7 separate regions of the Homo sapiens genome follow, and all the other regions are linked to region 7. The links are contacts of gene promoters, found by promoter capture Hi-C in human tissues and cell types (Jung and others, 2019). All regions are on one chromosome and are shown on one strand. The core of a region is centred on a gene start or on the middle of the fragment in contact, and the rest is flanking DNA. Distances in the headings are between cores, read along the strand shown.

What was found. Contacts are between HindIII fragments. The study calls those that stand out against the background at their distance.
Region 1: a contact is called between a fragment that was not itself captured here and the fragment with the promoter of GALNT13 in region 7, in 2 of the 25 tissues and cell types used here (hippocampus and neural progenitor cells).
Region 2: a contact is called between a fragment that was not itself captured here and the fragment with the promoter of GALNT13 in region 7, in 2 of the 25 tissues and cell types used here (dorsolateral prefrontal cortex and hippocampus).
Region 3: a contact is called between a fragment that was not itself captured here and the fragment with the promoter of GALNT13 in region 7, in 5 of the 25 tissues and cell types used here (H1 embryonic stem cells, mesenchymal stem cells, mesendoderm cells and 2 more).
Region 4: a contact is called between a fragment that was not itself captured here and the fragment with the promoter of GALNT13 in region 7, in 6 of the 25 tissues and cell types used here (H1 embryonic stem cells, adrenal gland, aorta and 3 more).
Region 5: a fragment that was not itself captured here is called in contact with the fragment with the promoter of GALNT13 in region 7 in 3 of the 25 tissues and cell types used here (hippocampus, neural progenitor cells and spleen).
Region 6: a fragment that was not itself captured here is called in contact with the fragment with the promoter of GALNT13 in region 7 in 4 of the 25 tissues and cell types used here (H1 embryonic stem cells, heart left ventricle, mesendoderm cells and 1 more).

Annotation. Positions count from the first base shown.
Region 1 is chr2:153,769,274-153,772,907 of GRCh38, reverse strand. It overlaps a transcript of GALNT13 not described here. Among named protein-coding and RNA genes, the nearest start is that of GALNT13, 100 kb to the left of the region's middle. The HindIII fragment of the contact is 4,962 bases long and covers 1-3,634 here.
Region 2 is chr2:153,805,612-153,809,647 of GRCh38, reverse strand. It overlaps a transcript of GALNT13 not described here. Among named protein-coding and RNA genes, the nearest start is that of GALNT13, 64 kb to the left of the region's middle. The HindIII fragment of the contact is 3,834 bases long and covers 784-4,036 here.
Region 3 is chr2:153,974,434-153,978,261 of GRCh38, reverse strand. The region is part of intron 3 of GALNT13 (polypeptide N-acetylgalactosaminyltransferase 13); the gene reads right to left. Among named protein-coding and RNA genes, the nearest start is that of GALNT13, 100 kb to the right of the region's middle. The HindIII fragment of the contact is 5,725 bases long and covers 1-3,828 here.
Region 4 is chr2:153,942,812-153,946,811 of GRCh38, reverse strand. GALNT13 (polypeptide N-acetylgalactosaminyltransferase 13) reads right to left here. Exons shown (of 13, transcript NM_052917.4): 3 at 2,173-2,418. The coding sequence starts at 2,314. Among named protein-coding and RNA genes, the nearest start is that of GALNT13, 73 kb to the right of the region's middle. The HindIII fragment of the contact is 4,583 bases long and covers 225-4,000 here.
Region 5 is chr2:153,785,714-153,789,802 of GRCh38, reverse strand. It overlaps a transcript of GALNT13 not described here. Among named protein-coding and RNA genes, the nearest start is that of GALNT13, 84 kb to the left of the region's middle. The HindIII fragment of the contact is 4,836 bases long and covers 1-3,960 here.
Region 6 is chr2:153,993,630-153,997,767 of GRCh38, reverse strand. The region is part of intron 3 of GALNT13 (polypeptide N-acetylgalactosaminyltransferase 13); the gene reads right to left. Among named protein-coding and RNA genes, the nearest start is that of GALNT13, 120 kb to the right of the region's middle. The HindIII fragment of the contact is 5,491 bases long and covers 1-4,138 here.
Region 7 is chr2:153,869,975-153,873,852 of GRCh38, reverse strand. GALNT13 (polypeptide N-acetylgalactosaminyltransferase 13) reads right to left here and starts at 1,931. Exons shown (of 13, transcript NM_052917.4): 1 at 1,550-1,931. The HindIII fragment of the contact is 9,874 bases long and covers 1-3,878 here.

The DNA.
Region 1 (3,634 bases), core at 617-3,116, 100 kb after region 7:
GCAGGGGCAGCAGCCCAGCCATGTAGAGAGCCTAAAACAAGCCCTGCCTGCCCAGGGTTGTTACCATCTGGCCCATCTAGAATCATAGGCTAGACTAAATAGGCAAGGCCTATCTCTGCCAAAAAAATACCTATAAAAGCCAGAGGAGTGGCTGTCTCTACGAATGTAGACATTACTGCAAGGACTTGAAGACTATAAGGGATCAGGAGATCACAACAGCTCCAAAAAAAGCTAATAAAACCTTTTTTTCCCCAGGATGGCGTACTAGAGGCTTTTAGCATGTCTCAGCCACTTGGAAATAGCAAAACAGTGCATAAAGATAAACTCTTTGAGCTTTAATTCAAGAAGGAAAATGAGAATTCACTGGAATAGTGAGCAACAACCCAGATCTCAGGGAGGAGAAAGTGGGCAAGCAGCCCCGTGATGGCATTCAGCTGATAAAAGTGAGAGAAGCACCAGTACATGAGGAAGCAGAGTCTCCTGCTGTGATTCACCTTCCCACTAGGGTTCCATGCAACCCAGGCCAAGAGAGAGCACCTAGTTCCTCTGAAGCCCTGGAGAAAACTTGAGGAGACAGGCAGAGGAAAAGATAATGGGAAAAGCTGTAGGCATTTTCCGATGCCCAGAACTGAGAGGAGGAAATCATTTTCAATTCAGGCTTATAGAACATCAGTCGTTGTTTGGTGACCTGGAAGCGGCAGCCACTGCAGGCATTTTGGTCAAGGGCCAGAGATTGGAGTAGTTGCTCTGCATTGGAGGACTAATGCTCACAGCCAGAATTGAATGGCAAGTGTGGAGAGCACCTCAGTGGTAAGCACTGGAATCAGCTCTCTCCAGTCACAAGACTGCAGCAAGAAGAGTTGCTCAAGCCAAGATTTAATCTGGGATTTGCAGCCAGAGACAGATTTGTGACTTGGAACCAGCCTACATATGCCATTGCTGGGTGCCCCGGACTGCTCCCTTGGTCAACCAGGGTAGAGTGCCCCACTCTAGTCCTGCTCACCTGAATTGGGAGTATGGTCCAACCCATCCTTCTCTTGCATCTGTGTGCAGTGAACCTCTCTCCACCTCACACCCAGGCATATTCCCAGGCATTTGGATCACCCACTCACTTGGATTAGTAAGTTTTTGCTCTTTTTCTGTGCAGAGATTTTGGGGCACTGGAGTCCTCTCCGCTTTATGACTAGACATATTTCCAGGCATTCAGCACACACCTGCTCACCTGGATTATCAGCCTGAGGTGCCCCTCCTTTTTCCTACAAAATCTTTGTTGTAGCAGTGATAACTTCCCGTCTCACAGAGGGACACATTTCCAGGCAATCGAAGTAAACACTCACCTGGATTGGGAGACTGAGCCACCCTAGATTAGGAGACTACACAATCCCCTTTGCAGAAATCTTGGTGCAAAGGTAAACTTTTTGCTCCACACCTGGATATATCTCCAGGTTTTTGGTGTACCTACCTTCCTGGAATAGGAGCCTGAGGTACCATTTCCTTCCCATGCAAAGGACTTGGTGCAGTGGCACTTCTTCTGCTCCACACCTGGATGTAACTCCAAGCATTTAGCACACTCACTCTCACATATTAGGTGTTTGAGCTGTCCTGACCTTCCTATACAAAGATCTTGTTGTGGTGGCAGTTTCTCTGCTCCTTCCCTGGGCATATCACCCACCTTGAGACACATCTGCCCCCCAACCAGATTAGGAACTTAAGTATTTTCTCCCATCCCCTGTAAAGCCCATGTAACAGCAGTTTTTCCAATCATTGCTGGGGCATATTTCCATGTATTAGGCACATATACTTGCATGGATTAGGAGCCTGAGCCACCTTTCCTTTCAGTTGCAGAGATGTTAGTGCAGTGGTGTTCTTTCCGCTTGACACCCAGACATATCTCCAGGTGTTTGGAGCACCAACTCTTCTAGATTAGAAGTTTAGGCCACCCCCCTTCCCATGCAGAGAACTTAGGGCAATGTAGGTCTTCCAATTCCATGCCTAGGCACACCTCTAGGTGCTTGATGGCTATCCACAAGACCACACCTCAAAGATGGTGCCTATGCCTACCATTTGGGAACCTGTAGGTGGGTCTGCCTAGCTCTGCCCCAGTCATCTTGGTCCTTCCCTCCAGGGCTGAGCACGGAGCTCAGACTACTGTGCATTACACAGATCAGCCCATTGTCTGAGACAATAGAAAATTTCTCCCAGTAAACAAGGAATAAGTATACATACCTATGTGTATCAGCTGTGACTGATGATGTAGATGGGTATATACTTGATCCTTGATGCAAATGAATATATACTTGATCCTTGTTTACTGGGAGAAGTTCTCTGGCTCTTACCCATGAGCACCACCCACTGGCCTCGAGGAGAAACAGCATAACACAATAGGAAATCTTTCAACACCAGTGCGTAGCACTGGGTAGCAAGATAAGCTTCCTGATACCAATATCGCTTCAGCCTCATAGGTGCCAGTGAACCTGCTCATATGCCTAGAACATGACTACTACAACCAGAATTTAGAAAAGGCACTATGAAAGGGCTATCTATAACCAAGGAACTTAAAAACAGACTCTTGGTCACTGAAAGCAACCAGACCAAAGTCAAAGGACCATAGACAACATACATTATAGCCACCTCCACAATGAGGGGTAGGGTGGGAAATTTCATCCAAATGAAATCTAACTCAAAAAATAAGGGGAGATAAATTATCCAGAGGAGAAAAAGCCGGGGTGTGGGGGGGCGGGGGGGTGGGAACTCTAAAAATAGGAAAAAAACAAAGTGTCACAATGCCTTCAAGGCACTACATTAACTCTCCAGCAATGGATCTTAACCAAAATGAAATGTTTGAAATACCACATAAAAAACTCAAAATGTTCATTTTAAAGAAGCTAAATGAGATTAAAGAGAAAGCTGAAAAGCAACACAAATAGATCACAATAGCAATTCAGAATATAAAGAAGAGATTGACATCATTACAAAAAGACTAAACAGAACTCCTAGAAATGAAAAATCCATTAAAGGAATTACAAAATACAATTGAAATATTTAACAATAGGCTAAATTGAGTGAAAGAATTTCAGAGCTGAAAGAGAGGCATTTTGAATTAACTCAGACAAAAATGAAGAATTTTAAAAACTGAGCAAATCCTTTGAGAAATATGGTACTGTGTAAAGTGTTCAAACTTATGAGTTATATGTATTCCAGAGGGAGAGGAAGAAAAAAGTAAAAAAGTATGGAAGATATATTTTAGAAAATAATTCAGGAAAAATCTCTTGGCTTTTGGAAATATTTAAATATTCAGATACAAGAAGCTCAGAGAACTCCTACAAGATACAATCCAAGAAGAACCACACCAAGGCATATGATAATCAAACTATCCAAAGTCAACAGGAAGGAAAAAATGCTAAGAGTGGCAATAGAGAAGCATCATCTGTAAAGGAAATTCTATCAGACTAATAACAGATTTATCAGCAGAAACTCTGTAAGCCAGAATAGCTTAGGAGGTCATTTTTAGCATTGGGGTGGGGGAGGGGGAAGCTAGCCAACAGCTTTGTATCCTGCCACACTAACCTTCATAAATGAAAAATAAATAAAGTCTTTTCCAGACAAACAAAAGCTGAGGGAATTTGTCACTACT
Region 2 (4,036 bases), core at 1,451-3,950, 65 kb after region 7:
CCCACTTCAATGGACTGGACCTAACCAATCACATTTCCTTTTTGATTATGATTGGTTTAGGGGTGGGCATATGATTAAAATTGCTCAAAGATATACAGGCAAAAGTTTGTTCAAAAGTTTGGGAAGTTGTTTTGTTTTTTGATTAAAAGGAGATACATGCAAAGAGAAACTCCTACTATCTATGTTTTGATGTATTAGGACATGATGTTGGAACTGTGCCAACCATCTTACAGCCAAGAGAATCACAGAGAAGCCACCCAGAGCTGTAATATTTTTAAGCATGGAACTAATCAATACTGAAACCACACATCTCTGTTTTTCTTTAATGTGATATTTTAAAACCCATTTTAAAATGAATTTTCATAGTGTATTTTGCTGATTGTTGGAGAAAACATCCTAAATGTTTCAACGAATAATGTGTGCATATTAATGTAGGCTGAAAGATTCGATGATAAAAAGACAAGAGCATTCTATTCTGGTGGCATCTATGTTATCAGTGAAGCAAGAATAGATTTTACCGTCAGTGAAGAGAGCTTAAGGTGATTGAGAGAGAGAAAATATGAGAGTCATTTTGATGACAAAGCAAGTCAATTTACTAGGGAAATATAATAGGAATGCTTAGCATTACTGAGTGCCCACAAAAGATTAGTGACTATAAATTTAAGGGTAAAACAGTCAGTGTGGTTGTGCTTTTTCTCTACCCATGTTCAGATATTCAGGTGTATGCACAGAATAAGCAGAATTATGAGTTTAAGCAGGCTTGGCATTTTGCCAGGCACATTTTGAACACATTAGGGAAAGGCAAGGAGTTGAGGGCCTCTGCAAGACAGTGATTAAAGTGATTAATCACAGAGGCTAATATAGGTAAAGAGAAAATTAAGAAAAAAGATAAGGCAGATGACAGTGAAAAATAGGTTGGGTCAAAGCATTGGATGTTTCAATGTGGGCAAAAGAGTTGTTGGAGAGAAGAAGCTAATGTGAACTTGAAAGACAGCATGTAGTGGTCAGAGTAGGGTTCTTATATATGAGATTTTCTGAGAAGCTAAGTATTAAAGACATCAACAACAGAGACTGAAGTCACAAGAAATAATGTCAGGAATAAAGTTAGAAAGGGAATGAGCTGGATATTAAGATAGTTAAAAACCGAGGGGAGAACCCTGGAGATTAGATGACAGCAAAAAGGAGAACTAATAGCAAATCTAGTCTGCAAGCAGGTACTTCAAAGAACCCAAGATTTGAAGAGTAGAAAGAAAAAATGGGCTGAAAATGGTAATGAGAAATAAGAAAGACAATTATACTACCTCTAGGCTTATGGTATGGGATGTGGTAGATGAAACAGGCACCAGTTGAAAATGTCGTGGGAAAAAAATAGCCTAATTTTACACACTTCAGTTTGCTGAACTATAGAATATTGCTAATATTGACTTTTTAGGTAGTTTCAGTATAGAATGAAATAATACAGAAAGCCCCCAAAAGCTGCCAGTATTATAGAAGAAAAAACATAGTCACATTTCTGTAACTTATATTTTAAACTGCCTATCACAGTATTAACTACAGCGCTTTGGGCTATTGCATTGACTTTGCACTTTGTTCCATGTGCTCCTAAGTGCACATTAAAGAGCCAGTGATGAGAAAGTTTGAAGTGAAGTTGATAATTCAGTTGAAAGTGGTTTCAGGTTAGTAACTTAGCTAGGCATTTATCAAAATCATATGAAAATTACCACTAAGAAAATAACCGAAGGCTTTAACTCATGCCTAAAACTGAATTCCTATAAATAAAGATCCAAAAAGTTATGAACTCACAGTAAACAAAAAGTCACAAAATGCACAAGGAAACAAAGTTTCATGGACAAATGAAATACAAGACAATAATCCCAGCGTCTCAAGACTATGGATAATGAAATTATCAAACACAGAATTAAAATAAATATTATAACACATTTAAAGAAATGTAATAAAAGCTTGAAGATATGAATACAAAACACTAAACTTTGAGGATAATCAACCTGATACTGTAAAATAACTCAGGAAAGAGGATGGGAAAAGGTCTGGCATACACAGCAAACTTCAAAGATATTGAGCTATATTTTAAACTAATGATGGGAGTTTTCATCACTGGTCTTTATATTTTTCATATTTTTATAAATATTTTATACATATACAATATCTAATAAAACAGTTAAATAATTGTGTGGCCATTCTAAGAAATATCATATGGCCATTCAAAAGGATGAGGCAAAGGTAGTTATCTAATAGAAAATGTAGCTTAGACATATTTTTCAGTGAGAAAAGGAAGTCAAAGGATAATATATATAGGCTGATTGCATTTCTATAAAAAATACATAAAAACCTTATTCAAGTTTATATTTATACATTATTGCATATGTACATGTATATATATATATGTCTATCTATCTAATATAAAAGGTTAGAAAAATATCTGGGAGGATATACATGAGTATGTCATAAGTGATAACTTATGAGAGAAGAGGGATGGGGTTGCTAAAAGAGGAAATTAACTTTTTATTTTGTGCTGTTACTACACGGATTGGGCATGAATAATGATGATGGTAAGTACCTTTGTAACCAACACGCAGATAAAGAACATTGCCAGCTACCTCCGAAACCCTATTCCTTCCCAATCCCCTTCACTTTTCCGCCTTCCCCATAAAGTAATTATGCTCTTAACTTTTATGGTAATCATTTCTATGTTTCATTATAATTTTTTTTCACCAAAGTGTACATCTTGAAACACTGTAGCTCTGTGGCATTGACTAACTTTTAAAAATTCAGCATGTTGTTAAGTTCCTTTCATCTACAGGTTCCCTTCTATTCCTTTCCCTCACTATTTACCTGTTGAAGAATCTGAATCATTTGGCCTACAGCATTAAAGAGTCTAAAGTTTACTGATTTTATACTCATGGTAAAGCTTTGTATGTTCCTCTGCCTATTTTTTTTTTTTTTTTTACAAATTGACAGGTAAATCCAGGCTCTTTATCAGACTCATGTTCAACCCCTTTGACATCATGATAATGATATTGATTTCTTTCCTAGAGAGCCACATAATTTGTGGTTGCCTTTCTTTCTGTGACATTGGCAGCTGTTGATATTCAATGCTTAAATTGATTAATTCAATGGGGATTGCAAATTAGTGATATTTCATTTATATAATTTCCCGCCTATATTTTAGTTAGAATATTATTATAAAGAGACACGCTTCTCCTCTGTTATTTATTCACCCAGTAGTATAAGATAAATGCTTTTTATTTCCCCTTATTGATCTGTTGTCAATATAGTATAGTAATGGATTTAAGTCAATTGCAATTATCCTTATTAAAGTACAAATTATTCTATCTTTGGCTAGTGGGAGCTTCTTCAAATTGTCTCCTTCTGACATAAATCTACTAATTTTTAACATTACTCTAGTAATCTTTGATAGCTTTATTACCAATTGGTATAACAAGATGTTTTAGACTTAGCTTGGACATTTGCTGCCGCAGATACATCATGAGACATTTTTCAAGCAATCCTAGTATTTTCATGAGAAATAGTATTTTAAGACTACCTGGATGTCAGATGCTAGGGATATACATTGTTTCTGAGGTGGTCATTGTTTCTAGGCTCTTTGGTAGGAAAGCTAGGAATATATACACATACATACACTATATATACACATACACACACTATATTATATATGTTTATATATGTATAAATCAGGATACTCTTAATTCCATATTTATACTTCCATTTCAAATTTAGTACTAGAGGCTTTTCAAATTAATCACATGTATTACACTTGTATCTGCTTTCTTCTTCATAAAGAATCAGAATCCTACTTTCAAAGGACAATGAATTACAGAATTAGTAAATCTCATAAGTACTAATTTTTCACACATTACATATACCATAGTTTTAGACTAACAATATTAATATCACCACATCCACTGAGAACTCTCAAAACTATTTTTACATATATTATTCCTATAATCCCCACCTCGCTTTTTGCTATAGTTGTACTACATCTACAGGGTCTGAG
Region 3 (3,828 bases), core at 916-3,415, 100 kb before region 7:
CTTATGCTACTATCTTAGTCTTTCAGGAAGTAGAAAGAAAGTTTCTGACCCTGAGGACCTGCAATCCTAGCATGAAAGCAGCAGTTTAGGGAATAAACAGACAATATTCTATCTTCTTATCTCTGAGAAATTTACCTTGCATTAAATTCAGTACCTCATTTGTAATGTTTTGGAAAGCATGACTATAATTAATGAAACAACATTTTTGGAAAAGCTATTAAATCTATTTTTCTAGGTGATAGCTGAGGCATGAATAGCATCCTCAAAGAGGAAGATTATCTACAAACAGCTGTAATTGAAGGCACTGTTTTTTTTAATGCAATAATTCCCAGGATTGAAAGATCGTATTTCTCTAGAATATTCAAGGAAGACTTCAATAGGTAGTGGATATGAGTATAGTCTTGAGAAGAAGTTAGAATTTCAAAAATTAAAAAGTTAATGAAAAGGGCATTTTGGACCTTAATTTTAAAATTTGAATGGTCATATGAATAACTCAGATATATTGTTAATATACAGATTCTAATTAAGTGGGTTTGAGTGGGACTTGAGATTTTGCATTTCTCTAAAATGCTCTGAGATAATGATGATGATGCTGGTTTGAGAACTACACTTCAAATAGTGATATGGTTTGGCTGTGTCTCCACCCAAATCTCTTCTTGAATTGTAGTTCCCATAATCCCCACATGTCGTGGGAGGGACCAGGTGGAGGTAATTGAATCATGGTGGTGGTTTCCCCCATCCTGTTCTTCTGATAGTGAGTTAGTGATTTCACGGGATCTGATGGTTTTATAAGGGGCTTCCCCCTTTGCTGAGCACCACCCCTTCCTGCTGCCATGTGAAGAAGGATGTGTTTGCTTCCCTTTCTGCTTTAAAGTTTCCTGAGGTTTCTCCAGCCTTGAGGAACTGTGAGTCAATTAAACCTCTTTCCTTTATAAATTGTCCAGTCTCAGGTATGTCTTTATTAGCTGCATGAGAACATACTAATACAAGTAGCATGGTAATGCTAGACATAAAATAATATGAGCAAGTATACAGGCATAAAAGAATCATTTATGCTTTGAATAAGTCAGTAGTACCCTTTCCTTGAGAGGCAGTTGATGGAAAGGTTTATTTAAGTCAAATTATAAAGGATTTTGAATGACAGCTTACTACACCTAGATTTTATGTCAAGCACAAAGCTTGCTTTCATTGCTTTCTCAAAGAAAAATATTCCCTTATTGACAAAAGCAATATTAAAAATAACTTAAAGATAAAATGATTTATCAGTTCAATTATGACTAGTATGCCCTCTATTATTAGAGGAGGTATAGTGCAAGTGCTTAAAAAATGTGTAGATGGAATTATTTCAATTATTATTTCCTAACTAAGCTCAAGTTTATTTTAAATGCATACCCATATCAATAATTTTTCATGTTTCCATATTAATTTTTTGCCAATTGTTACAAAAATATGCAAATTTTCTAAAAATATCAAATGTGCTGTGGGAATTAATCACTTAGTAATATGGAATTAAATGTATTTACTATGTTACTTATTATAAGTAACCCAACATAATCGATTGACAAAAAAATCTATTTCTACGAGAAAAGCTAAATGAATGGCTTTTGTTTTCCAAAATGAGCTATTACCTCAACCATTTATTATTGGTTCCAAATGTTTTATTCACTCAACCCATGATTCCAATATAGCTTGTTCTTTAGAGCAAAATTATTTTACTACTTTAACTGAAATAAAACAAATGTTATTCTGATAAACTAATACCTAATTGGCTTGGAAGAAAATTTAGGAACAGAAGACATCCAGATTTTATTATAAGGCTTGAAATTTGTGAATTTTGAAGGACTGCTTTACAAAGATAAAATTGATTGAAAATGATTCATGATTAAAATGGGTGCTAAACCTTAAACTTCAGTATCTTCATGGTAGATAAGACTCAGTTTAGGAACTACAGAAACCACATTTAGTTACATTGTAAAGCAGATTGATTAATTAATTAATTGATTGATTATTGAGTACCCATTATGTTCCAGCCAATGCTAATCTAAGCACTGAGGATAAAATGGCTAATAAGATATACAAATTTTCACTTTTATAGAACATATCCTCTACAGGTTGTAAACACAATAACACATACATACGTAAGACAAAATCAAAATATATAACAAGATAAGAGCTGTCATAAAATAAGGAAGACAAAATAATTTTGAAGTGGCAATGTCAGCTGGAATGGTCAGGTGAGGTATGTTGGGATGTGATATTTATTTATTTTTCTTTTTCCCCCAGCTTTATTGAAGTATAAATGACAAAGAAAAATTGCATATATTTAGGACGTGCAATGTGATGTTTTTATAGGTATACGTTGTGAAATCATTATGACAATTAAACTAATTAACATATCCATCACTTTACAGTTACCGTTTTTTTGTGTGTGTAGTGCTGTGAGAAGATTTAAGACCTACTCTCTTAGCAAATTTCAAGTATGCAACACAGTTTTCTGAACTGTAGCCACCAAGCTATACATCATCTCCCCACTTATCCTGTGTAACTGAAACTTTGGTTCTTTTGGCCAACAACTCTCTATTGAATCATTTAATGATGAGAAGAAAGCAGCCAAATTAAGAAGAATTGTTATTTTTTTTCAGTTTCATCCACGGTAGAGTGAATAGGTGATTAATTAACAAATATGTGTTGAAGTGTTAAATGAATGACTCTGTGGAAAAGCATTTTGAGTAGTTAAGAGTAGAAAATGCAAAGGGACTGATATGAACATAACTTGCAATTTGGGCAAATGAAAAGAAGGCCTGAGTGCAGAGAAAGGCAAGTGATAAAGAGAATGGGAGGTGATAAGGTTAGAGAGAGAGGCATGTGCCAGACCATGTAAGTCAGTAGTTCTCAGGTCAGGATGCATATTAGAATCAACTGAGAAATTTGGTAAAGCACCAGTAAAAAAGGAGCAGGGGTGAATGGTATCTAAGAAAAAGCATGTTTTCAAATCCTCCAGGTAAATGTGACATGTAATCATTGTTAGGAATGAATAATCACACATTTGAAGGCATGATAAGAAGGCCAAGAGATGCCATCACAGGGTTAATAATGAGGGTTAAAAAACATTAATGTCAAAATACATTTCCTTGAATTAAGAATAAAAGCTTTGCTGAAATTCTTTTTAATATTTCCTACCTAATTTGCTTATTTATACCCAAACACAAAGAAAACAACAAAGACAGTCATATGCAAATAAAGGAATGGGTATAAAATAATTTCCATTCTTTCTAATGATGCTACCCATATAATACACTAATCAAGATTGTGAAAGTTTCCCACTTATCACTTAAGAAAAAACATTCAGATTTCCTTCCTCTAGACTATTTTACATCACAAAGACATAGGGAGACTGTCAAAACCAACTTTCTTTTCCTTACACATGACTCCAATTTCCTAGGACCTAGTGACAGAACAAATAATAGGAAGCTTGAATTAGTCTATCTCTAAAAATCTTAATTCTTCTGGTAACCATGACTTCTGGAAATCAAGGCAGGAAGAATATCTCATTTATGCTTAGACTGATTTCCATCCTTCCTCTTCTCCAGAACTCTTCCTCCATTCCTAATAGCCCCATATCCACTTATTTTTTTACATAGCATTTATTGCTTATTAGCCTACTCTATAGGTTATTTGTTATATTTATTATCTCCTCCACTAGCATGCAAGCTCCAAAATAATTTTGCCTACTTTCTTTATTGACTCATCCCAATACCTACAGAAGTGACTAGCACATAAAAAACACTCAATAGATATTTACTGAAGGAAGGAATAAAAATCCATGTG
Region 4 (4,000 bases), core at 1,267-3,766, 72 kb before region 7:
AAATAGTATTAATATAAAACTTTAAAGTAGTACAATGTACTGAATGTTTGTGTCTCTGCAAAATTCATATACTGAAATCCTAACCTTCAAAGTGATATTAGGAGATAGGGCCTTTGGGGGGTGATTAAGTCATGAAGGTGGAACCTTCATGAATGCAATTAGTGCCCTTATAAAATATGCCCCAGAGAGATTTCTCAACTATTCTGCCTAGTGAGGTTAGTGAGAAGACAGCTGTTTACAAGGAACAGCCCCTTATCAGACGTTGCATCTGCTAGCACCTTCATCTTGGAATCCCCAGCCTCCAAAATTGTAAGAAATAAATGTCTGTTCCTTGTTAGCCACCAAGTCTATATTTTTTTAACAACCTGAATGAAGTAAAATAACAAGTCTTATCAACAAAGAGAACAATAGTTTAATTTTACAATTTAAGTACAAGGAAAAGTTATTTTTGCCTTGCATTGTTAAATTTCACATTTTGAGATTTAAGACTTAAGGAGCATTAAGGACATAAATCAGCAAAACTGTACCTTTGTGTTACTGGCAGAAAAGGCTATCAAAGTTTTGCTGAATCAGATTATTACATTTTTTGTATGTGACCAACCTAGATGGTTTCCTTCAACAAATGACAGAGTGATCATTCCAAACTGATGTAATCCATCAAAAACACTTTTCTACATTCAGCCAAGCAGCAACTCAACTGATTCTGACAAAGAAGCTCAGAAGGCTGATTAATTCTGGGGTTTTAACTAAAGATCAGCAAATCATTCCCCATGTTCATTTGTCAAAAACATGGACTTATAATGTTCCCCTCTCAGAATAACTGAAGTATAAAGGCATAAAAAATGCATGTAAACTACCTAAATGGGTCTAGCATCAGTCACTTGCAAATTTTTTTAAATTATTTGTATTAGTCAAAATCTAAAATGCAAGTTCCATTTTAAAAGACAAGGAAGCGATTCAGAAGATTCAGAATTTCTCTAAATGAACAAGAGTATTTCTGTAATCTAAAGCAAACTCAACATGTCTAAAGTAATCTTTGATTTGCAATCTAAAGCAAACTCAACATGTCTAAAGTACTCTTTGAACAAAAATTAAATTTTGGAAATGCTCTTCTGTTTCCCTAAATTTCATGTAACCTGATAGTGTTAATGAGATTCTGTTTATTAAATATTTTGTTCAATAAATATCTCAAAAATATGTATAACATTAAAAGCAGATCATATTCATTAAATAAATGTAAATCTCAACTTGATAATTTAGATTCACTTTTCCAAAAGGTACAAACATGTCATGATACTTCAATTGAAGCTTGCTTTTTGTCATATTTATGCAGAAAACTTTTGCCAAACAGAGAATATGTTAGTTCAATGAGAATAAAACTAATTTTGAGTACTCTTACATATTTTAGAAGTATTGAATTTTCTAGGAATACATTAGAAATATATTTATAGATCTTGAAGTTAACAAAAAAGAAAGCATAGAGAAAACTGGAATAACTTCACAGAAAACAAATCTCTATGGCTTTACTTGATAAATAACCATTCATACAAATTATTATGTTTACATTCATATTTAGTCTTTGAAACTGGTCCCTCAAGAGGAAAATACTGAAATAAAGTAATTTTACAGTATACTTGAAATTATCTTTTTCACTTAACATACAGCCAGCAATCTGGTAAATCTGCATACCGCCATGTGTTTTGTTTTAAAAATTGGTTGTTTTATTTCAACTGTTTTGGAAGTCTTTAGCGGTGTCATTCATGCACAGTTCGTTTGCTAAAATCGCCACCTGTCTCACTTTAGTGGTTTTTCCGTTTTATGTTATGTGCTTGGTCTTTAAAGGCTTTTGGCTTCTAGCAGCCTAGATTTAAAATTCTGCCCAGTTTGAACGTTCACTCAACTGTTCTTTTCATACAGTCACAGAACACCAGAATTTATTAGGTTGAACGGTATCTTAGAGGTTAGCTAACTCTTCTTATTTCTTCCAAGAAGACGCCTAAGACCAAGAAAGGTAAAGTAACTTCCCCATGGTTAAACATGCATTAATAGTGCTGCCAAAATGCTCTTCTAACTCACTAAGGCAAAACTCTTCTGATTCTGAAGTTTCTCATTTTGTCAAGGCACCACTTTTCTCATCTCTATAAAGACAGTATTTGCTTCATAAGCACTTACCCCTCAATGCAGGCAGCAGAGATCTCTCCTTCTTGTCATCACATTTGTTACATTCACTGAAGTACAGCAGTAAGAAGACATCAACAAGAACCCACATCAGCGAAGTGGCTAGAACCACCTTGCAGTAGACAAATCTCCTCATGTCTTTCCTTGATTTCTAGTTAACACACAGATTGAAGACAAATGCTACTGTGATAAATCCAAGCCACACAGGTGAACTCCAAGATGAAAGCAGGATACATTCCACTGCATTAAAACAAAGAAGAAAATTTCATTAATTGTACACATAGATTTTTGGATAAAGAACATATAACATGAAATGTATGACTTATTTAATGTTCTCAAATATATCAGTACTCAAGCCTTCGAATCCAAAATTAAAAGCCTAAATAAATGAAAGTTGCTAGCAAGCTAGTTGGCTAACATTTTAATACCTAATACTAGATCTGCCACTACTCTGCCAGGCCCTTGACAAACTACTTGATTCCTTTAAGTTGTATTGTAATGAACTTAAAGTCATATCATGATATTCTTTATAGCTCCAGGTTGTCAAATAGTGCAATTCTGACTTTACTCTAATTCAGTACTTCTGACTAGCCAATAATTCTGAAATAGAAATCATCCTGGGATACAATATATTATAGTGGCTAAAATCTGGCCTTCATAGACAGACACGTCTGGGTCTGTACACCTCCTAAGAATAGAAGACTTTCTAAGCCACAGTTTTCTCATCTGTATAATGTGGATAGAAATGCCAAAGCTAAACCTCATTTGTTATGAGGATTATGTAGAATCATATTTATAAAGCATCTTGCAGAACAGATAATTAATAAAACATAAAACAGAGCTGGGCACGGCGGCTCACGCCTGTAATCCCAACACTTTGAGAGATCGAGGCAGGCGGATCACCTGAGGTCAGGAGTTTGAGACCAGTCTGGCCAACATGGTAAAACCACGTCTCTACTAAAAATACAAAAATTAGCCAGGCATGGTGGCACGTGCCTGTAATCCCAGCTACTCAGGAGGCTGAGGCAGGAGAATCACTTGAACCTGGTAGGTGGAGGTTGCAGTAAGCTGAGATCACACAATTGCACTCCAGTCTGGGTGACAAGAGCAAAACTCTGTCTCAAAAAAAAAAAATACATACATACGTAAAAATAAAATAAAATAAATACATAAAACAGAAAAAATTGTTCTCATATTCTTAAGTAGAGCAATTGCAAGACACGATCAATAATTACACAGCCTCTAAAATCCCAGCTGATCTGCAGAGAAAGTATCTACAATAAATGTGTGTTTAGAATAGATAGCACGCATCCAATTTATCAGGGGAAAAATATATTAACATAAATGATTTAAAATAATCAGAGCAAGAATTTAAAGGCTATAACAAAGATATGTACATAATTATTAAGAGACATTTTTCAAGGTAAGTGTAGAATGAATACCTTACACTTATTTGTTTTATTTATACTACATTGAGCATTTTATTTATACTACTACATTTGTTTAACTACCTGGTTAACCAACTTTTATCTATAAAGTAAGTAAATCAGACAAAACATATTCTGATATCATTTGTTACATTTTAAATAATATCGAGTAAAATGTAAGCTTATTGATGTGAATAAGATAAGTGATGAAGTTTTGACAGAGCTAATTGGGGTGAACAGTATTAAATACAAAGACACTTGAAATATTTCATAAACGTTTGTCTCAAAAACATCAAAGTATAATTTGATGAGCACAAGCTCTTTAAATTAACAGCAGCTGACAGCACCATAAAGCAACAGAAATTCTGTTGCCTGTTATAACCAACCTAAACTAG
Region 5 (4,089 bases), core at 293-2,792, 84 kb after region 7:
TGTTCATATCAGCCTATAATTGTTATGTGTTTTTCTGGGGGGTTAGTGGTAAAATCTCCTTTATCATTTCTGATGGTGTTTATTTGGATCTTCTCTCTTTTCTTTGTTAGTCTAGCAAGTGGCCTATCTATTATATTTTTCAAAATACCATCTCCTGGATTTGGTGAATTTTTTAATACACTTTTGTGCCTTGATCTTCAGTTCAACTCTGATTTGGGTTATTTGTGATCTTCTGTTAGCTTTGGAGTTGGTTTGATCTTGCTTCTCTAGTTCTTCTACTTGTGATATTAGGCTGTTAATTTGAGATCTTCCTGACTTTTTGGTGTGGGCATTTAGTACTATAAATTTCCCTAGTAATACTGCCTTAGCTATATCCCAGAGATTCTGGCATGTTGCATCTTTGTTCTACAAGCTTCAAAGAACTTCTTGATTTCTGCCTTAATTATTTACCCAAAAAAAGTCATCTGGATCAGGTTGTTTAATTTCCTGTCATTGTATAGTTTTGATTAATTTTTTAGTCTTGATTTTATTTTCATTCTGCTGTGGTCTGAGAGTGTGTTTGGTGTCATTTCGGTTCTTTGCATTTGTTGAGGATTGTTTCATGTTTCAGCGTGTGGTCAATTTTAGAGTATGTGTCATGTGGCAATAAGAAGAATATATATTCTGTTGTCTCAGGGTGGAGAGTTCTGTACACATCTATCATATCCATTTGGTCCAATGTTGAGTTCAGATCCTGAATATCTTTGTTAATTTTCTGCTTCAATGATCTGTCTAATAATGTCAGTGGGGTGTTAAAGTCTCCCACTATTATTGTGTGAGAATATAAGTGTCTTTGAAGGTCCTTAGAACTTACTTTATGAATCTGGGTGATCTCGTGTTGGGTGCATATACATTTTGGATAGTTAGGTCTTCTTGTTGAATTGAATCCTTTACCATTATGTAATGCCCTTTTTGCCTTTTTTTGATCTTTGTTAGTTTAAAGTCTGTTTTGTCTGAAGTTAGGATTGCAACCTCTGCTTTTTTTCTGATTTCCATTTCCTCGGCAGATTTCCCTCCATCCCTTTATTTTGAGCCTGGGTGTCATTGCATGTGAGTTAGATCTCTTGAAGATAGCATACAATTGGATCTTGCTTCTTTATCCAGCTTGCCATTCTCTACCTATTAATTGGGGCTTTTAGCATGTTTACATTAAAGGTTAATATTGATATGTGTGGATTTGATCCTGTCATTGTGTTATTAGCTGTTTATTATGTCAACTTGTTTGTGTGGTTGCTTTATAGTATCACTGGTCTGTGTACTTAAGTGTGTTTTTGTAGTGGTTGGTAATGGGCTTTACTTTCAAGATTTAGTAATTTTTTTAGGAGCTCTTGTAAGGCATGTCTGGTGATAAAAAAAAAAAATTCCCTCAGCATTTACTTGGCTGAAAAGGATCTTATTTTTCCTTCAGTTATGAAGTTTAGTTTGGCTGGATATGAAAGTCTTGGTTGGAGTTACTTTTCTTTTTAAGAATACTGAATATAGGCCTGCAATCTCTTCGGTCTTACAGGGTTTCTGCTGAGAGGTATGCTTTTAGTTCGATGAGCTTCCCTTTACAGGTGACCTGTCCTTTCTCTCTTACTGCCTTTATTATTTTTTCTTTCATTTTGACCTTGGGGAATCTGATGATTATGTATCTTGAGGATGATCTATTTTTGAATGGGCCCAAGCCAGAGGTTTTCTGCATTTCCTGAATTTGAATATTGGCCTCCCTAGCTAGGTTCGGGAAGTTCTCATGGATAATATCCTGAAATGTGTTTTTCAAGTTGTTTGCTTTCTCCCTGTCACTTTCAGGGATGCTAATGATTTGTAGATTTGGCTTCTTTACATAATCTCCTATGTCTCAAATGTTTTGCTTGTTCCCTTCTGTTCTTTTTTATTTTTGTTGACTGTATTGTTTCAGACAGCGAAACTTCAAGTTCTGAGATTCCTCCTCAGCTTGGTTCCCTCTGCTGTTAATATTGGCAATTGCATTGCAAAATTCTTGTAGTATGTTTTTTGGTTCTATCAGATAATTTAGGTTCTTTTTTATACTACCTATTTTGTCTGTCAGCTCTTGTATTGTTTTATTGTGATTCTTAGTTTCCTTGGATTATGTTACAGTATTCTCCTGAATTTTGATTTTTATTCTTATCCATATTCTGAATTCCAGTTCTGTATTTTCAGCAAACTCACCCTAGTTAAGAATGCTTGTTGGAGAACTAGTGCAGTTGTTTGGAGGACATAAGACACTCTGGCCGATTAGTTGCTGGAGTTCTTGCATTGGTTTGTTTCTCATCTCTGAATGTGGGTATTTCTTTAAATGTCATATACATTGAGTACAGTCAGTAGGCTTATTTTCTGAATCTTCACAGGACTGAGCCTTTGTACAGGGTCTTTATTTGCAGCTGACTTATATTTGGTTTCACAGGGGGTTATGCTAGTGAGGTAGTTTTGGTGTTGAAGCTTTGAGGTGTGATCCAGTAGGTGGCACTTAAGTGTAGCGGTCAGTTGGTAGGCTTTTGCTCAGTTGTGTGGCTCCCCTATATTTCCTCACATTTGCAGTTGTTCTCCCTCTTGGTGCTCTGACAGTGTGGGCTCTCCTCCCATTTGAGTGCTGGACATAGATCACAGCTTAGTACTCCTGGGCTTCCCATCATATCTCTGGTATAATCTCAGGGTTTATGTTTTCTCCCCAACTTGGAGGCAGCAGAGGAAGGGACCTTAGCAGTGGTTGTGGCTGAAGGTCTTTTACTTGTCTCCTGGGAGCTCCACCCCAGGAGATTCAGGTTAGCAACCACTCAGCGTGATTAGCCCAAGATGGGGGTCCTGTGCTGTGGACCCGAGCCAGCGGTTCCCTGCCTATTTATGAACAGTGGGAGTGGGTGTTACCCATGGAAGATGGACCGGCCTCCTATCCTTGGATCAACTGCTACTTGTTGGAGGTGTGGACAGATACTTATGGTCTTTGCTCCTTTGTTAGTCTGAGGGTAGCAGGGGTAGTACCACTGCAGTGGCAGTGGCAGAGGGGCTTTCAATTGCCACTGGGGGTTCCACCTCCAAGGAATTTGGAGCCGCTGTTACTGGGAGTGTTCAGCCAGTGGGGTGGAGCAGCTGCACTGCTGGCATGAGCTTGGGGCCCTGCTTGTTGGGGAGGAGGGGGTCAAAGGCTCACCAGGAGGAGAGACTGATCTCCTCTCAGTATCATAATTGTGGGTTGCTGTAAGCTCAGTGTAGCCCTAGGCTCTTTGTTTCTTCCCCAAGGGCAGCAGGGATTAAAGTGCTGCTGTGGCAGTGGCAGAGGAGTTGTCAAATGCCTCTGGGAGCCTCTTTCTAGGAAAACTCTGGGCCACTAGAAGTGAGTATGCTCAGCCGTGTAGGGTGACTGGTCCACAGTCATGAGCCAGGAGTCCCAACTGGCGAAGAGGGGCTGGACTCCTCTCCAAATGGTGGCTGCAGTGTGCTGGAGGTGTCAGCGTAGTGACTACGCACTTTGTTCTTTGTTCTTTCCCCATCCCAAGGACTGTTAGGGTAATAAATACCACTGTAACTGCAGTGCCAGAAGGGTTGTTGGTTGACTCTGGGTTTCCTCTTCAGAGAAATGCTGGGCTGCCTCTGATTGAAGTGGTGAGTTACAGGCAGGGTGGTTGTGATGGAGTCCCATATCAGGCAGCCCTGCCCAGTGAGAAGTGAGGAATTGCCCCTGGGGGCTCCACCTCCAAGGAATTTGGAGCCGCTGTTACTGGGAGTGTTCAGCCAGTGAGGTGGAGCATCCGCACTGCTGGCATAAGCTTGGGGCCCTGCTCGTTGGGGAGCTTGTTGGGTCTCCCCTAGAAGTCAGGCCTCCATGGGGAACAGTCTGACCACTTTTCTGTGAGGTGGCTGCTCTGTGCTGGAGGTCAGGACCAAACCCTGGTCCCCAAGGACTCTCCGGAGCCTGGAGACAGCAAGGACTAGGGCTATGAAACAGCAAATATGGCATCCCCCACGCCCACACTGGGAGCTCTGTCACAGGGAGTTGCAGAGCTGCTACAGGCTCAATAGCCCTAGAGGGTGTGGCTGGAGACCCAACAA
Region 6 (4,138 bases), core at 998-3,497, 120 kb before region 7:
CACCTAATGTAGATGACAGGTTGATGGGTGCAGCAACCCACCATGGTACATGTATACCTATGTTACAAATCTGCACGTTCTGCATATGTATCCCAGAACTTAAAGTATAGTTTAAAAAAATTTTAAAAAGGAACTTAAATTGTCCCTGTTTGCAGATGACATAATTATATGTGTAGAAAATACTAAAAATACCACCACAAAACTGTTAGAACTAGTAAGTGAAATCAGTAAAGTTGCAGGGTACAAAATAAACACAGAAAATCTAGAAGCATTTTTTCTAAGGCAATAGCAAACTATGTAAAAAAGAAATCAAGAAAGTTACCCCATTTATAATAGCCAAAAATATCCCCCTAAGAATAAAGTCAATCAAGGGGGTAAAGGATCACTACAACAAAAACTATAAAACAGTAATGAAAAAATGCTAATGAAAAAATGAAGCAGACACAAATAAAAAGATATTACATATTTATAGATTGGAAGACTTAATATTATTAAAATGTCCATATTATCCAAGGTGATATATAATTTCAATGCAATCTTTATCAAAACACCAATGGCATTCATTCAAAAAATAGAAAAAGCAATCCTAAAGTTGTATGGAACCACAAAAGACCCAGAATAGTCAAAGGAATCTTGAGCAAAAAAACAAGGATGGAGGTATCCAATTACCTGATTTCAAAATATACCACAAACCCACAGTAACCAAAACAGCATGGTACTGACATAAAAACAGACACAAAGACCAACAGAACAGAATAGAGAAGCCAGAAACAAATCCATGCATCTCAGTAAACTGTCTTTTTACAAAGGTGCTGAGAACACACATTGGAGAAAGGACAGTCCATTCAATTAAAGAAAATTGGTCCCAGGAAAACTAGATATCCACACGTAGAAGAATGAAATTGGACCCTATCTCACATATACAAAAATGAACTCAAAATGGATTAAAGACTCAAATATAAGACCTGTAACTACAAAACTATTACAAAAAAGCATAGGGGAAACACTTCACAAAATTGATTCAAGAAGAATTTTTCAGATAGATCCTGAAAAGCACAGGCAATAAAAGAAAAATGGGCAGATGAAATTATGTAAAACTAAGAAACTTCTGCAAAGCAAACAGTCAACATACTGAAGTTACAGCCTACATAATGAGAGACAATATTTGCAAACTATGCATCTGACAAGGGGTTAACATCCAGAATATATGAAGAACTCACACAATTCAATAGCAAAAAAGAAATCCCATCCAAAAATGGGCAAAGGGCATGAATAGACATTTATCAAAAGAAGACATGCAAATGACCAGTAGATATAGGATAAAAACGCTTAACAACACTCATCATCAAAAGAAATGCAAATAAAAACCATAATAAGATATCACCTTATCCCAGTTAGAATAGCTATTATCAAAAATACAAAAGATAACAAATGTTGGCAAGGGTGTGGAGAAAGAAGAACTCTTATACACTGTTAGTTAGAATATAAAATAGTACATCCATTATAGAAAAATAGTATAGAAGTTCCTCAAAAAATTAAACATGGAACTACTATATGATTCAGCAATTTCATTACTGGGTATTTATCCAAAGAAAATGAAATCAGTATGCTGAAGAGATAACTGCATTCTCATGTTTATTGCAGCACTGGTCACAACAGTCAAGAGATGGAAGCAATTTAAGCATCCATCAACCAATGAATGGATAAAGAAAATGTGGTATTTACACACTGGAATGCTATTCGGCTATTAAAACCAGAAGGAAATCCTGTCATTTGTGGCAACACAGATAAATCTAGAGGATAAAATGTCAAGTGAAATAAGCCAGGTACGGAAAGGCAAATACTGCAAGATTTCACTAATAGATGAAATTTCTAAAAGTTGATCTCATAGAAGTGGAGAGTTGAATAGTGTTTAGGTAGAGGCTGAAGAGGTAAGGGAGAAGGTGGGAGTGGTAGGGTAGAGGTTGGTTTATCAAAGTTACAGTTAGAGAGGAAGAATAAGTTCTGATGTTCTATCACATAATAGGGTAACTTTAGCTAATAGCAATGTATTGCATATTTCAAGGTAGCTAGACAAAAAATCTTGAAAGTTACCACCACGGAGAAATGATCAAGGATTGAGGGATAGACATTGAGGGATAGATCAAAACTACACTGATTTGATCATCATGCAATGTATACATGTATTGAAACAACACACTGTACCCTATAAACATGTAAAATTATGTGCCAAATATAAACAAAAACTTTTAAAAAGAAAATTTAAATGATAGTTATGAAATAACTGAGAATATCTTTAAGTTGCCCCTGAGCTCCTGAGAGAAATGACAATGTCTAATTCTTATTAATTTACATACAACCCTTCTTTGGTTCCAAAATGAACAGGCAGTGGTATTTATTTTTATGTATAACACAGCACTGAGTGTAGAAAATTAAACATAAAATAAATGTTTTAATTAAAATGAACTGAGAGTTCAATTTTATTTATTAAATAGGCAAATCAAAGGCGTTGATTTTATGCATTTTAAACAAGTTATCAATATGTGGGTTTTACATTAAATACAAAAAAGCTGAAAACACGGAAAGTATTTAATATAGATATGCAAATGTTTATAACTAAACTATATTAGATGAGATCTAATCTAATTAATTGTTTCTTAGTTGTATTATTTCTTAGATGAAATCATCTAAGAAAGCTTAAATCTTTAATAAAATGGTGATATATATTTCTCAATAAGATAAAAAATATTGTCATGGATATTCTTACATTAGTATAGACACTTAAATTATTTGCATATACAGAAATTGTTGATCAACTCTAAAATAGTTTAGTTATAGGATCTAACTAAACTAAAAAGCTTCTGCACAGCAAAAGAAACTACCATCGGAGTGAACAGGCAACCTACAGAATGGGAGAAAATTTTTGCAATCTACTCATCTGAAAAAAAGCTAGTATCCAGAATCTATGAAGAACTCAAACAAATTTACAAGAAAAAAACAAAACAACCCCATCAACAAGTGGGCGAAGGATATGAACAGACGCTTCTCAAAAGAAGACATTTATGCAGCCAACAGACACATCAAAAAATGCTCATCATCACTGGCCATCAGAGAAATGCAAATCAAAACCACAATGAGATACCATCTTACACCAGTTAGAATGGCGATCATTAAAAAGTCAGGAAACAACAGGTGCTGGAGAGGATGTGGAAGAATAGGAACACTTTTACACTTTTGGTGGGACTGTAAACTAGTTCAACCATTGTGGAAGACAGTGTGGCGATTCCTCAAGGATCTAGAACAAGAAATACCATTTCACCCAGCCATCCCATTACTGGGTATACACCCAAAGGATTATAAATCGTGCTGCTATAAGAAGATGTGCACACGTATGTTTATTGCAGCACTATTCACAATAGCAAAGACTTGGAACCAACCCAAATGTCCATCAATGATAGGCTGGATTAAGAAAATGTGGCACATATATGCCATGGAATACTATGCAGGCATAAAAAAGGATGAGTTCATATCCTTCATAGGGACTTAGATGAAGCTGGAAACCATCATTCTCAGCAAACTATCGCAAGGACAAAAAAACCAAACACTGCATGTTCTCACTCATAGGTGAGAATTGAACAATGAGAACACTTGGACACAGGAAGGGGAACATCACACACTGGGGCCTGTCATGGGGTGGGGTGAGTGGGGAGAGATAGCATTAGGAGTTATACCTAATGGAAATGATGAGTTAATGGGTGCAGCACACCAACATGGCATATGTATACATATGTAACAAACCTGCATGTTGTACACATGTACTCTAGAACTTAAAGTATAATAATAACAAAAAAAAGAAAACAATTAAGTGTTCTGTTGAATATACAAGAGTTAATTCAAAAGAAAAACGATCTAAGTACTTGAAGCATGATCATGGTTGCACAGGGGGTTTACCTACATTTTTTGAAAAGTAAAAGAATAAAAGTCATTACCACCAAAATTTGGCATCCTTTTGCAAATCATCTAATATGTCAAGAAGAATTTAGCTTAATTTATCTTTTTTTTTTTTTTTTTTGAGATGGAGTCTTGCTCTGTCGCCCAGGCTGAAGTACAGTGGCACGATCTCGGCTCAATGCAAGCT
Region 7 (3,878 bases), core at 682-3,181:
GAGACACAGAAAAAGAGAGAGAGAGAAAGAGAGAGAGACGGACTGAGACTCTGAGGAAAGGCAGCTTTCACATAAAGCTGAAAATATTCAAGGATACCAGAAATTTCAAGGGGGCTTTGGCAGCCAAGTGCCTTTAGCCTTGCGAATAAAACCTCTATGTTGTTATGTTGTTTCAGGGAAGGCTGACCACGATCTCTCCAAGGAAACCGCTTTCCTAAGCAATGAATGCATGGTAGTTTAAGGCAGGCATACCTCAGTCCCCAAAGCTCCTCTCCTCTGCTAGCAACACCTTTGCCTGAAGAAAGCTCCCACCCTTTCGAGGTTAGTTTCCCTGAACCCCAAAGCATCTATGTTTGCCTGCTCACTGTCCGTTCTTCTGCAGCTGGCTATAAAGGTTGGGGAGGCAGACTCTCCTCCTGGAAATTCAACTAACCATAGTCAAAGAATCGGGTATGCGGGAGGGGCTTGCGCAGCTTTCGCTGTCCAGAGTAGCAGCCTCAGTGCGCTCAGGTTCGCAGCAGCGCAGCGCCCTCGGACCCGGCAAGGGGAGCCTGCTGCGGTGCCCTCCACTCTAACCCCTTGCGCCCCTCCTTCAGGTCCACGACAGCCTGGACAAGGGCAGGCTGTCTCCTCCGCGTCCCCACTGACCCCGCAGGAAAATCTCTGCACCTGGAGATACCCATTAGATGCGCCAGGGCTTGCTCCCCTAACCAAGGCGCTTCGGGATCGCGGGGCTGGTGTTCGGGAAGACGGGGCAGAGAGATGACAGAGGGAGACAGAGATAAGCTGCGAGAAGCAGACACAGAAAGAGAACAAATGTTGCAAAACGGAGAGACAAAAGGAAAGACAGATTAACAGGGACACAGATATCCCAAGAAAGAAAGAGGGAAACAGAATAAGAGAAAAAAACAGATACATGGCCGGAGAGTGTGGACTGAGGGGACCAAGGCTCAGAAAGAGAAACAGAGGCAGAGACACACACGGCGAGAATGAGAGGCAAGAGGACTCTGAAAAAGCGAGGCAAAGGGGGCACTATACGAAGGCAACCGTCGAGGAAGACACCCAAGACCCAGGGAGCGCCTGGTGTCGGGTCGAGTAGAAACGCCCGCAACGCAGCCGGGGCTGCCTGCAGCTGGTGCGAGAAAGTTGTCTGGGCTTGGAGGCCGAGCCACCCCCGCGGAGGAACGTCACCAGAACGCAGAGGGGGCCAGAGCCGCTCCCCCCCCCCCCCCCGCCACCAACAACTCACCGGGGTAGCCAGAAAAGCAGAGCAGAAGGTGGGCGGCGGCAGAAAGTTCCGCGCCACGCGGTCCTCCCGCAACACCTGCAGCCCCGCAAGCGAGCGCACTCGGAGCTCCCGGGAGGCCGCGTCGCCAGGTCCGCCCGCGCCCCTGCCTTTGCCCTGGGACCGGCCCGGGGCGCTCGGCTCCGCGCCCCGGCACTCGCCGCGGGACTTTGCGGCACCTAGCCCCGGCACTCTGGCAGCCCAGAGGGAGCTCGTCCCAGACAATCAAGAGGAAAAGAGGGGAAGCGAGAAAGAGACGGAGACCTGCTATCCTGGCCAACGATCCCGCGAAGAGGGAACGGCGGTCCACACACGGGATTCAGCCTCAGATCAAGCCCAGCAGGCGCCGGCCGGCCGCGCCGAGTGCGGGGCTCGCCGAGTCCGCGCTCACCTGGAACCCGCGCCGGCCCGCGAGCGCCGCGCGCAGCCCCGGCTCCCGCCCGCGCCTCTCTCTTCACACTTGCCCGCGAGCAGAGGGAGCCGGCTCCAGCCTCGGCCAGCCCCAGAGAGGGGCCTTCATAGCGCAGCGGCGGGCTGAAGGGCTCCTCGAGCGCGGCCAGAGCGGACGCTGAGGCCGAGGAGGCGCCCAGAGCGAGCGAGGGCTGCTAGCACGTTGTCACCTCAGCAGAGCCGCCGCCGCCTGGTCACTTCTCCCCGGCCCCCGCCCCCCTCCCACCCCAGCCCGCCGCCTCCCGGTCCCTCCTCCTCGCGTGGTCCCTCCTCCTCTCGTAGCCCCAGCCTGGAGGCCTCTCACTGGGCTAGTATCATTTACGTAACCAGCACCCCCAGCCCTCCTCCCTCCCTGCTCCCGCTCCTCCCCGGGCTGGGGCGGTGCGCACCGAGCGCGCTCCAGCTGCTTCTGGAGCTGGCGCTTCTGCGATGTGCGCAAGTCCCGCGATACTTGGCAGGCACGGCCCCCAAGAGCAACCCTGGGGTCAGCTCCTCTCGCCGGAGGGCGCCTCGCGACCCCTGGCCGCTTTGGGGCCCCACAACGCCAAAGCCGGCCTGCGTGCACCGCGTTCGCCCAATGCACCAGGGAGCCTCTTAGAGGGGAGCTGGAGGATCAGAGACTGCCCTCGGGGAAAGCGCCGGCAACCCCACCCTTGCCGTCGGCTCTCCAGCCGAGAGATGCTGCGGGGTACTTGACGCTTCGGCGCCCTCCGCAGAAAGGACGGAGGTTGGCCTCTTGTTGGTTACAGTATCTACACCCTGGCAGGATCCTAGTGTTCTGGTTGGCGGTGACTACTGCCACCGAACGCACTGTAAGAGTACTGGAAACACAGAGCGCTTCCTTGTGGCTCTCAAATTTTTATGAAGAGGTAAAGAAAAAAGTGGGGCTTTGAATTCCTTTCTCAGGCAAGTAGGTATGATATTAAACACACACCCACTCCGAAGTACCTGGACGTATGAATGTCTCAGTTAATGTGTTGTACCAATACCCCCATGGTACTGAGTTTAAATACATGTAAAGATTTTAGAACAGTGCCTGGCACAAGGCAGAAACCTAAGACGCAGACATTATTAGCGTCTCAAAGACTTGGGACCTGTCCCCCACTGCCATGGGAGAGGAACTTTTCTAGGAAATTGGGATTGCCGAGTTCAAGTGCCTGCTTGGCAATTTATTCACTGTGGCTCTTGGCTAGTTTTGGCCCTTCGGGTGTCAGTTGTCTTGTTTGTAATAAGGGCTGACAGGGGTCCTTGCTTCTCACAGTGTCACTTCACACATCTTATAGGATGTTTTTGGCAGAATTGGGGGAGGATATAACGACTACATAAAAATATTAAACAGCCACGTTTGACAAACATATGATACTATTAATCATAATCTAGTATGTCAATGCCATTCTTGATTATACTCATGAAAGGCAATTTCCAGAGATATTATCTTTATATCTTTTCGTGAGTCAAGTATCATTTAAATTTCTATGTTAATAACTGTATTAATGTCTCCTCCTACATTGTCCATCCTGCCCTACCGTCAATTATGGAGCATTTACCAGAGATGCTTCTGTGCATGTGTGAGTACACAGGGTCCCACTCATAACACTCTGGAATGTCTCTCTACTGCTCTCTCTAGTGAATTCCAGTCCTAACATCAGGTCACTCACCTCTACATGGCATACTGAGAAAAACTGTGGACCAGGTAAAAGATTGGGGTTCTGATGCTGATACAGCTACTTACTAGTCCTATGTTTTTCAAAGACAAATAAGCCCCCATTCTTACATGTTTCATCTCTTAAAAAAAGGCGCAATTCCATTTTGCAGTCTTTGTGATAATATTTAACTTAGGCAGAATCATAAACTTGGTAAAATTTATTTGGGTAATTGGATATTTACGTAGTCCCAAAGTATCACCCTAGAAAGTATTGGCTTTTGGTGCATAACACACCATTCCAAAACTTATTAGCCCCAACCAATAAACATCTGTAATTTCTCAAAGCTCTGTGGGTTGTCAGGTTGGTTTCTGCCCTGGCTAGCTCAGTTTGGTTTAGAGATCTAGGATGGCTTCACTCACTTGTCTGGTGTGGCATACTTATTAGTCTTGAGGGTGTGGGACTCAGCTGCAATGTTTTGTCTTTTGTTTAATCTAGCC